Regions from separate parts of the Homo sapiens genome. Here all the other regions are linked to region 3. Evidence: promoter capture Hi-C in human tissues and cell types (Jung and others, 2019). All regions are on one chromosome and are shown on one strand. The core of a region is centred on a gene start or on the middle of the fragment in contact, and the rest is flanking DNA. Distances in the headings are between cores, read along the strand shown.

Evidence for each region. Contacts are between HindIII fragments. The study calls those that stand out against the background at their distance.
Region 1: a contact is called between a fragment that was not itself captured here and the fragment with the promoter of SP9 in region 3, in 1 of the 25 tissues and cell types used here (lymphoblastoid cells).
Region 2: a fragment that was not itself captured here is called in contact with the fragment with the promoter of SP9 in region 3 in 1 of the 25 tissues and cell types used here (thymus).
Region 4: a contact is called between a fragment that was not itself captured here and the fragment with the promoter of SP9 in region 3, in 1 of the 25 tissues and cell types used here (mesenchymal stem cells).

What each region holds. Positions count from the first base shown.
Region 1 is chr2:173,593,421-173,596,120 of GRCh38, reverse strand. No RefSeq gene overlaps it. Among named protein-coding and RNA genes, the nearest start is that of CDCA7, 240 kb to the right of the region's middle. The HindIII fragment of the contact is 5,269 bases long and covers 1-2,700 here.
Region 2 is chr2:173,770,273-173,772,972 of GRCh38, reverse strand. No RefSeq gene overlaps it. Among named protein-coding and RNA genes, the nearest start is that of SP3, 190 kb to the left of the region's middle. The HindIII fragment of the contact is 5,425 bases long and covers 1-2,700 here.
Region 3 is chr2:174,333,635-174,336,334 of GRCh38, reverse strand. It overlaps SP9 (Sp9 transcription factor), which reads right to left and starts at 1,381. Exons shown (of 2, transcript NM_001145250.2): 1 at 1,222-1,381; 2 at 1-228. The coding sequence starts at 1,242. It overlaps LOC102724194 (a long non-coding RNA gene), which reads left to right and starts at 1,359. Exons shown (of 3, transcript XR_427194.5): 1 at 1,359-2,595. The HindIII fragment of the contact is 14,947 bases long and covers 1-2,700 here.
Region 4 is chr2:173,670,585-173,673,284 of GRCh38, reverse strand. No RefSeq gene overlaps it. Among named protein-coding and RNA genes, the nearest start is that of SP3, 290 kb to the left of the region's middle. The HindIII fragment of the contact is 3,132 bases long and covers 1-2,700 here.

The sequences.
Region 1 (2,700 bases), core at 26-2,525, 740 kb after region 3:
CCATTCTACTCCCTATTTCTATGGGGTCAACATTTTTAGATTCCACAAGTAAGTGAGATCACACAGTCTTTGCCTTTCTATGCCTGGCTTATTTCGCTTAGCGTAATGTCCTCCAGGTTCATTCATATTGCCGCAAATGCCAGGATTTCCTTCTTTTTCAAGAGTGAAAAATCTTCCATTGTTTATATACCACATTTTCCTTATCCATTCATCTGATGGTGGATGCTTAGGTTAATTCCATATCTTTGCTATTGCTAGTAACATTGCAATGAATATGATGGGAGTGCAGGTATCTCTTAACATACTGATGTCCGTTCTTTTGGATACATATCCTGAAGTGGGTTTGCTGGATCATATGGTAATTCTATTTTTAGTTTCTGAGGAACCTCCATACTCTTTTCCATAATAGCTGTACTAATTTACATTCCCACCAACAGTGCACAAGTGTTCCCTTTCCTCCACATCCTTGCCAATAAAAGTTATTGTCCATCTTTTTACTAAAATAGCCATTCTAACAGGTATGAAGTGATATCTCATTGCAGTTTTAATTTGTGTTTCCCTGATAATTAGTGAAGATGATGATTTTTCATATATCTGTTGACCATTTACATGTCTTTTTTTTTTAAGAAATGTCTATTTAAGTCTCTTGCCCATTTTTTAAATTGGGTTCTTTATTTTCTTGCAATTGAGTTATTTGAGTTTCTTATATATTTTGGATATTAGCCCCTTATCAGATATGTGGCTTGCAAATATTTTCTCCCAATCCATGAGTTGTCTCTTCATTCTATTGCTTCTTTTGCCATGCAGAAGCTTTTCAGTTTGATGACATACTTTTTGTTTATTTTTTGCTTTTGTTGCCTGTGCTTTGGGGGTCACATCCAAGAAATGTTTGCCCCCAGAACAATATTGTGGAGCATTCCCTTTACGTTTTCTTCTAGTAGTTTTACAGTTTCAAGTGTCACATTTAAGTCTTTAATTCATTTTGAGTTCATTTCTGTGTATCATGTGAGGTAAGGGTTCAATTTCATTCTTCTGCATGCATATCCAATGTTCCCAACATCATTTATTAAAGAGATTGTCCTTTCTCTATTGTGCGTTCTTGGCAGCCTTGTTGAAAATCAATTGACCATAAACATGTGGGTTTATTTCTGGGCTCTCTATCCTGTTTCATTGGTTTTTGTCTGTTTTTATGCCAGTGTTTTGCTGTTTTGGTTTCTATAGTTTTGTAATACATTTTGGAGTTAGGTAGTGTGATGCCTTCAGCTTTGCTCTTTTTACCAAAGATTTCTTTGCCTATTCAGGGACCTTTGTGGTTTTACACAAATTTTAGGATTGGTTTTCCTATTTCTGTGAAAATGATCGGCTAACTTTGGAGAGCTGAGGTGCAAGAGCATGTAATATCAGAGCTGGAGTGAGCACCATCGCAAGATGAAGTCACAGACGGGCCTCCATTATGGGGAAGAACAAACCAAGAGCCACACGCAGGAAGCCAATTCATGAGATTGTCCTGTGTCCTTATAAGAAACCCCCCTGTTAGTGTGTGCACCACCAGGCCAGATGCTAACTGTGAGGAAGGACTATAAAGAACTTGCATTTAGTGAGGTCCTCGAGAGTGGCAGGCAGTTCTAGGCACCTACATGCATCATCTCATTTAAGCTTCACAGTAATCCTGTTACATCAATCTTATTATTTCATGTTCACGGGTAAAGACACTAATATGGTTTGGCTCTGTGTCCCCACCCAAATCTCATGATGAACTGTAATGCCCAGTGTTAGAGGAGGGGCTTGGTGGGAGGTGATTGAGTCATGGGGGCGGACTTCCCCGTTGCTGTTCTCATAATAGAGTTCTCACAAGATCTGATTGTTTGAAAGTGTGTAGCTTCTACCCCTTTGCTCTCTCTCTCCTGCCACCATATGAAGACTGTGCCTGCCTCCCCTTCACCTTCTACCATGATTGTAAGTTTCCTAAGTACTCTTCAGAAGCAGAAGCCTGTACAGCCCACAGAACTGTGAGCCAATTAAACTTTTTTCTTTATAAGTTACCTAGGCTCAGATATGTCTTTACAGCAGTGTGTGAATAGAATAATATAGAAAATTGGTACCAGAGAAGTGGGGCATTGTTATAAAGATATTAGTAAATGTGGTATCTATAAAGATACCAGTAAATGTGGAAGCAGCTTTGGAACTGGGTAGTGGACAGAGGTTGAAACAGTTTGGAGGGTTTAGAAGGAAACAGGAAGATGAAGGAAAATTTGGAACTTCCTATAGACTTGTTGAATGGTTGTGACCAAAATGCTATAGTGATATGGATAATGAAGTCCAGGCTGAAGAGGTCTCAGATGGAGATGAGGAACTTATTGGGAACTGGAGTAAAGGTCACTCTTGCTATGCTTTAGCAAAGAGACTGGTGGCATTGTGCCCCTGCTCTAGGGATTTGTTGAACTTTGAACTTGAGAGAGATGAATTAGAGTATCTGGCAGAAGAAATTTCTCAGCAAAAAGTGTTCAAGTTGTGGTCTGGCTGTTTCTAACAGCATACACTCATATGTGTGCACAAAGAGATTATCTGAAACTGGAACTTATATTTAGAAGGGAAGCAGAGCATAAAAGTTTGGAAAATTTTCAGCCTATGTGGTAGAAAAGAAAAATCCACTTTTTGGGGGAGGAATTCAAGCCTGCTGCATAAATTTGCATAAATAAA
Region 2 (2,700 bases), core at 108-2,607, 560 kb after region 3:
GTAGAGTTATAAATGCAGACACAGAGGCATTGATCATTGATATGAATGAAGAAGGGAACTGGAAACAGGCAGTTCAGGTTTGCTTCAATATTCCAAACTTGCAAGTTTAATTCTAAAGTAGTCCAAGACGCAATCATGGATTATTCCATCTGTGAACTGTATGATATTGCAAATGAAGAGTTCAGACTTGGTTTAACTCTTGACGATCTTGCAAAGTAAGCACAGGCTCATTATAATAACTGTGTTCAGGCTGTGTGTGAGTTTGGTGTCTGCCGGAATGGCAGCAAAGATGACTGAGAATTCAAATGTGTGTGGTCAGAAGCCTGTGTTGCCACTGTGCTCTCTGGCCACATTGGGGAGTGGCAGAGATCTTCTTCCCAAATCAGGAAAGGCAGATGCCCATGGATCTAGGCTCTTGAACTGTTTTCAGGGTGAGTAAATACCTTTCATTTCTTCTTTATTTTGGAGAAAAATTGAAAAAGGCAGGTTATCACCATGGTCCCTTTGCTCTCCTCTTTCATCATTTTCTTGTCAATGAAAGAAAATTTACAATAAAAAATGATTACGTAACAAACATTGAATGCAAATGTTAGAAGTTCACAGGTGAGGAGAGGACAAGTGGTGACTACAGAAGGCAGCCCCTTTGAGGGTCTGAAGCATAACAATTTCGCATTCTTCTTGCTCATATGCCCTAATTTTGCCCTAAGAAGGAGGCTTTCCCTCCACACAGTAGATAGTCTTCGACAGAACCTCAAGGGTAGCTTCTTCTGCATTAGTCTTGGAGTCTATTCTACATCTAAACGGCATGGGAGATCAGCTGCTCAGCATCATAGGGCAACACATGTGAAATTAGTACTTCACTGGAATGACACCCATGTGTAGAAGCCAGCATGGAGGCAGAAAAGGCCTGACACTCCTTTGCCATCCTACTTGGAAGGCAGGGCTTATTCTGTCAGATGCCCTCGACTTGGACTTGAATCAGGAGTGAGTGAAGTGACGAAGCAGGGACCATGACAAGACCTAGGACCAGTGTCGGCAACAGTGCTGGAGGTTTTAGTATTTAGATGCAGGGGCAGTTCATTTTAGGTGGGTCCCAGGAAACTTTGTTTCTTTGTTCCTGCCTGTTTTGTTAACTTGGTTTCCCAGCTTTTTTGGAGAATCTGTAAGCTACCAAGACATCCTTCCAGTAAATTCTCATCTTGCTTAAATCAGCCAGAAATGGTGCCTATGGTTTGAAACCAAGAAACTTGGACTGATACAGGATGTACTCTCTTTTCATTAAAGCTTACTGTCTCCCAAACACCTGCCTTACAGACAGATAATGAAGTAGACCTAATCATGAACCAGAATTGCCTTCGAAACTTGTGTTTTGGTGGAGTGAATGATGTCGGCCCTCAGCGTTCCTGGGCTGCTGCTGCTGTGTTTAAAACTGTGCCATAGGAACTGTCACTGTTTCTGTGGTTTCTGAGGGATGGCTCTGCTTCAGGTTTGTGCTCTTCTCAGAAAGGCACTTGCTCTGCCAGAAGAGTTTGAAGAGCACCTCTTGTCACCTCAGCATGAGAAAATGGAGATTGCAGCAACCCAGAGAGAGAGCTCATGTGAGAATGACAGAAAGCTCAGCCTCAGAGCAACAGCCAGCATTTGCCACATCCAGCAGAGGGGAACAAAGGTTTCCACAGACAGCCATGGAAGAAGACTCAGTACTTGATGTCTATTTCTTGAGTGACTGCATAAGCAGAAACCAAGACCTGGTTCACATTCCCTAACACAGGGAGTGAACATCTGTGCTCAGCTGGTGTGGAGTCAGAGCAAAGAGGATCTCACCAGAGCAGAAATACTTAAATGAGAGCACTACAGGATACAGCTTGGAACAATGGGGAAAAGACAACTGCTCAAGCTTTCTTTCAACTTGGTAGCTCAGATTTCATCTAGGACAACGGCTGAGCTGTCGTATCAGAACTTCCATTCTCTAGCTCCAAGTTCTGATCAGTTAACCTCACCTATTTATTTACTTTAAAAATTTTATTATGGAGCTATGATATTGTGATATAATGCAAAACATATATTTGGTCTCTGCCCTTCCCTCTCCGCCCACCTACCTGTTCTTGGCACAGAATCCTAAAGGCCTTGTAGATAGGGGCGCTAGAGGAATCTTTTGTTCCGATATTTGGTTTTTCACCCTCAAGACAAAAGTGCTCCTAAGACCTTTCCTCTGTAATTTTCTTAGTGGTGTAAGCACCTGACACAGAGCTCCTAAATCCCTTGGAATTTCCTGGGTAATAGGAGCATCTTTTGTTCTAATGAGGTGACTTGGTGGGCTCCTGGGTAGCCTCAGGATGGGGGCTGGTTGCCAGGGGAACCAACTCTGTGATTAGAGGATTGGAACTCTCAGCTCCATCCTTTGACCTCCTGGAAGAGGAGAGAGGCTGAAGGTTGAGTCGATCATCAATGACCAATGATGTAATTAATCATGCCCTACCTAGTGAAGCCTCCATAAAAACCCGAAAGGAGTGGGTTCAGAAAGCTTCCGAATTACTGAGCACTTGGAAGTTCTGGAGGGTGGCATGCCTGGAGATGGCATGGAAACTCCATGCCCCTTCCCCCATACCTTGCCCTATGCATCTATCTATTCCATCTGGCTGTTCATCTGTGTCTTCTGTAATATCCTTTAAATAAATGGATAAATGTAAGTAAAGTGTC
Region 3 (2,700 bases), core at 132-2,631:
GCCCGAGCCGCCCGCCAGGCCGCCCGAGCCACGGCCCCCGGTGGCCACCGCGAAGCCCGAGAGGCTGGAGCCGAGGTTGCAGCTGGACGAGGAGCGCTTCCAGGGGTGAAAGCCGCCTTTGGCGAAGGCGCTCGACTCTGGCAGCGTCGTCAGCGGGCTCGTGTTGCCGATCTTGTTGCAGGTCGCCGCCAGCATGGCCAACGGGGTCGTTCCGAAGCGCGGCTCTTCCTAGAGTGGGTGGGATGGGGGAGGGAGCAAGAAGGAGGAGGGCAAGAGGAAGTGGGGGAAGAAACAAAGTGCACCCGTGAGCAGCCTCGTCCCCTGCGGCTGCTCCCGGGGGGTCCTGGCTCCCCGCCTCGCGCCTCCTCCCCACGCGCCCGCGGAGGAGTCGCCGCACCGGGCGCGGAGCAGGGGCGATCACCCGGGCGAAGGTCCAGGCGCCGGAAAGTTGCACTTCGCTGAGGCTATAAATCAAAGATGCCTCCGTGTTCCCCGCTGCAACCCTGCCTACAACCGGACTTGGGTTGTCGCCGTAAACCGGCTCATCTCCCAGAAGACCCCAAGTCGCCCTTCGGGGTGAAGCGCGAAGGTAAACACAGAGACCAGAGACAACAAACACCGGGTGAGGGCGGAGGCGGCCGAAACAGCTGCCAGGGACGGGCGAAACTTGCAGCTCTCCCAGGGTGGCTACGACTTGACTTTTCTTTTTTAATAGAAAACGTTTGGTTTTAAAGTTTACATACACACAAAAACAGCGATTATGAAAACAATAATCCGAGGATAAGCGGCCAGAGACAGATTTCAAAGTCATGGGCGAATTGGGGAGCCGCGGAAATGTAAATGTTTATTAGCGTGACTAGATGGACTGCAAAACGATTAAGACTGTTTTCTGGAAACACCATTGTCGCATAATTGCAACAAAATCCCCAAAGCAATGCGGGGGATGGGGTATAAATCACGAGGGGAAGAAAAGAAACCTCTAGCTTTTTTTTGAAACCAAATGAAAAAGGACTTGATTAAGAAGGCCTTTTCTTGCAAAGGCATCTTTCTGGGTTCCAAAAACTTGGGGAAAAATCAGTCCCAGAAATGTGGAAAGTGCTAATAGAAGCTGAAGCTGCAGTCTAGCAGCAACAGTTTCTCCGGAGCCGCAGACCCCAGAAGCCATAACGAAAAATTACTCCGGTTAAAACAAGCAAATGCGTTGCCGCGCTTGCGACTTACCCCGAGTATAGACGTGGCCATAGCAGGTCTCTGGCTGCGCAGCGAGGCTGGGAGCGGGGCTGAGCCTGGCGGCTGCTCGGAAAAACTGCTTGGGTCCCGCGCGGCTCCCGCGTCCCCGCGCTCGTGCCGAGCGGACTCCAGGCTCCCGCCGGCTAAACTCAGCCTAAGTGCGAGGAGCACCCGCTTTGAAGTGCCGCTGGCTGCGCCTCTCGCCCAATGAGGGCGCAGGCAGAGCAGACCGGAGCTGCCCCGCAGCCAATCAGACGCTCCGAGGGGCCCGAGCCCGGGCTCCCGGCGCGTGCCAGTCAAGTCAGCTAGCTAGGGCCGCGGGGGTGGGGGGGAGTAGTGGGGGATACTTGCGGGGGGGGGGCGAGGGCGGGCTGGGGACTGAAGAAATTACAGTGCAATTAAAAATTTACACTCACGCACCAAGCCAGGTTTAAGTACCAATGAAACCGAGCCACAAGCACCCCCCCACACACAAACCACCCCGAGATGTTGCAAGTTAGGGCTGACAGTCCTACTCGACTCCCCACTTGTAGGAAAGGAGGCAGGAGGGGAGGAGACACCCAGACACAGCCCGCACCAGCAGGGCCCAAGTGGAGACGGAAATGTGAGCCCTCACTTTGTGTGTCCAGGCTTTTGCCTACAGAACACAACTTCAGCTTGTATCTATCATTCTTGCTTGTGATTTTTATCATTTTCGTGTGTCTTCTACCCAATTCCTTATTCCACTAGATTCAATTTCACTCTCACAGTTATACTGGGGAGGGGGCGCGAAGGGACAGCTCCTCCGAGAGGAGCGAAATAGGCCTCTCTGTACAGATCTACATCCACAGATTTGTTGGGAGGGCCTGGAGCCTGCTGCATCCCGCCATTTCCCCCCAGCGGTGTAAGTGACTTCCTAATTGTCGCTCTGGCCTCTGACCCGGGGGGTAATACAAGTGCCACTCACGCTAGAGGCTTCTGGTGGTAATTGAGGGCACCCTTTGTACGGTTTCGCCAGCGCTTAGATACCAGGTTAACCCAGTTGTCAAATATGACTAAACAGTGGGATGTGCTGATTATCTGCCGGGTTTTGCTGTGGGCTGGCATGGGGGTGGGAGGCATCAGCCCATACAACACGCTGCACGAAGCCGCTTATTTTCTCACTGTAACAACTTTGGAAACAGAGACCGGCGCGAGCGGCGTCCGCCCCCACCTCCACCTCCGCTGAAGCTGCAGCTTGCTCGGCTGTTTGTTTAACCCGGTGAAGATTTGCATGTCGCGTTTCATCCTGGAGTGGAGTTTTCTTGTCCCAGCTCCAACCCACTCCCATTCCAGACCACCAGGGCCTAGAGGCTCGTCCGTAGGGCAAGTGCGCTGTTTTAAGAGGTAGGCTCCCCATTAGTGCCCTGCTTTCACGGACGCGCCCGAGAAATCTCTCCAGGACTTTCACCCGGGAGGGCGGAGGACCAGGCCACACGTGGGCGCTTCCAC
Region 4 (2,700 bases), core at 63-2,562, 660 kb after region 3:
ACCCCAGTTGGTTGAGAGTTACTTAGGAGGCGTTAACTCACCTGCTCCCTTGAATCACAATGTGGGAATATCATATGGGTTCCCACAGGCATCCCACAGCAAAGAAGTTCTGGGGCAGGAAGTGAGAGACCAGTGGTGCACACTTGAAATGAGATGTCAATTTGAACTGGTTTGAAGCTTGCCCGCAACCACTCACACAGCTGTTGCTGAATTATTAGTGAGGCTGAGGATGTGTATGACAGGTCTCTGCCTTCTCCCAATCACATAAATATAGTAATTCATTTGCTCTGTCTTATGATATACTGTATACAAAATATATATCTCCAAATTAACACATTAACACCACTAACAACAATATATCCTACTAAGGATGTATAACCAAAGTACTTGGTTCAAAAATTACTTAACTCAGTTTTTTTTCCCCTATGTGGTCATGTTATCTAATTTATATACAGTTAAAATTATTTGTTTCTCTTTATAATAAGAAAGCGTGAGTAAAATTGATGACATTACAGAAAAAAGATTTTGTCAGGCAGAAAACACAAAAAGCAAAGACAAAAGACAAGGGGAAAATGGGCAGAAAATATTTTCAATAGATACCACAGATAGGAGATAAATATTTTCAATAGATACCACAGATAGGAGATGAATTTCTCTTGTGTATAAAGAATTGTTAAAATTAATATAAATTATTAAAATTTAGATAACCCAATAGAAAAAATCAGCAAAAGTGATGAAGAGACCCTTCAAAAAAAGATATATACTATAAAGTGATTAAAATTAAAACTACACTGAGGTATTACTTTTTACTTATCATATTGGCACAAATTCAAAAGCTTGACAACAAATGACTACCTATAAAAGAAAAATGAAATAAACTCTGGTACATGCCTACAATGGAGTACTATACAGCCATAAAAAGAGAATGAGGAAGACCTTGATAAAAGGTTATATAGCAATTACCAAGATGTAACATCTATCATATAATATATATAATATCTGTTTTTTGTAAGAAAGAATTGGCAATAGGAATGTGTGTGTGTGTGTGTGTGTGTTTCTGGAATTTAAAACATAAACCCAAAGTATAAATCAAAAAACAATGAAAATGTTATCTATAGGGATAGAAAAGGGAATGAAACCTCTCGATGGATACCTTTTTATATAGTGTTGACTTCTGAACCATATAAATTTTTAAATATCAAAAAATATATAATTAAATTTTAAACTTTTAGGGGTAATAGATTTGCTCATTATCTTGATTGCGGTATTCATTTTACAGATACATACATATGTCAAAGCTTATCAAATTGGACTATACATAGATTAAGTATAGTCGATGTCGATTATGCTTCAATTAAAAAATTTTAGTAAAATTTTGAAAAGCAATGCTAAAAAAAGATTTTGTGGCTTTAAACAAATAAAACTAAAATCATTTAATTAAATTTTAAAAAGTGTGGCAGATTGTCTTTTCTTTACATTCCATGTGCTCTTCCAACATCTTAGTATACCCACTTCAAGAGATGAAGTCTGTGTCCCTTCCAACTGAATCTGGTCAGGCTTTTGTGACCATCCAACTAATAGTATGTGGGTGAAGTAATGCTCTGTGGCTACTGAGGCTAGATCATAAAAGGTTATCTTTCTCTCTTGGGGTGCTCACTCTTGGTCTTCAGTCATTCTGTAATGATGAAGTCCGGGCCACATGAAGGGGTTATATACCATAGGGAAAGGGTATACATGATTCAGAAGGGATATGTAAAACAATCATTTAAAGGCAGGACTTATGGTAAGCATAATAACATCAAGGTTGTGTGACCTAAGGGCAGGATTTAAACTGGAAATCTTAGAGGTTTTCCCAGAATTGGGGTTAATCAGAAGTCAACACGGACACTTAGCACTCAAGGTAGAGTTGCTTTGGCATCCACAAAACATATGTGCTGCACACACTCATACACACAAACACACACCCCACAGCACATATTTTAATTTGCTCCACGTAAAGTGTATAAAAATATTCAATTCCATTGGATTTGTAAGTAAATGACCACAAACACATTTTGTAGCTGTATTAAGCCTCAACCCAGGCTAAACTTCCAGCCAATAGTCAGGACCAAATTGCCAGCCAAATGCACCCTGTAGGAGCCTGATCCTCTGGCTGACAGTCGAGCTTTTTTAGCTAATGCCAATTGGAGCAGAGATCAGCGTTCTCCACTGAGCCTTGCCTAAATAGAAGATTCTGGGGCAAAAATAAATAATTTTTGTCATTTTAAGCCACTAAGTTTTGGCACAGTGTATTATGCACCAGTAAATAACTAGTGAGGAGTTTGGTATCTGGAAGTGGTATCTGGGGTGCTGCCATAGCAAAGCCTAAATTATGTGATAGTGGCTTTGGAACTGGAAGGTGGGCAAATATTGGAAGGGCCTTGAAGAAACTGTTAGCTGCAGTCTGACGGCCCTTACGGGACTGTGAGTGAGGGTTTAAAGGAAAGAGAAAAGGTTACTGGAATTGAGTGGAAAGAGGATTTTGCCTGCAGTGACATAAAAAATAGAAAAATTATACATAATGAACTGGTGAATATGAAAACTTTTCAGGCAGTATTTTGAAAGTGCCAACTGGATCTATGTATGTTTAGATAAAGATAGGGAGAAATGAACTAAAAAAAGGGAACTGTTTGATTTTTAAGCAAATTTAAAGGAAATATA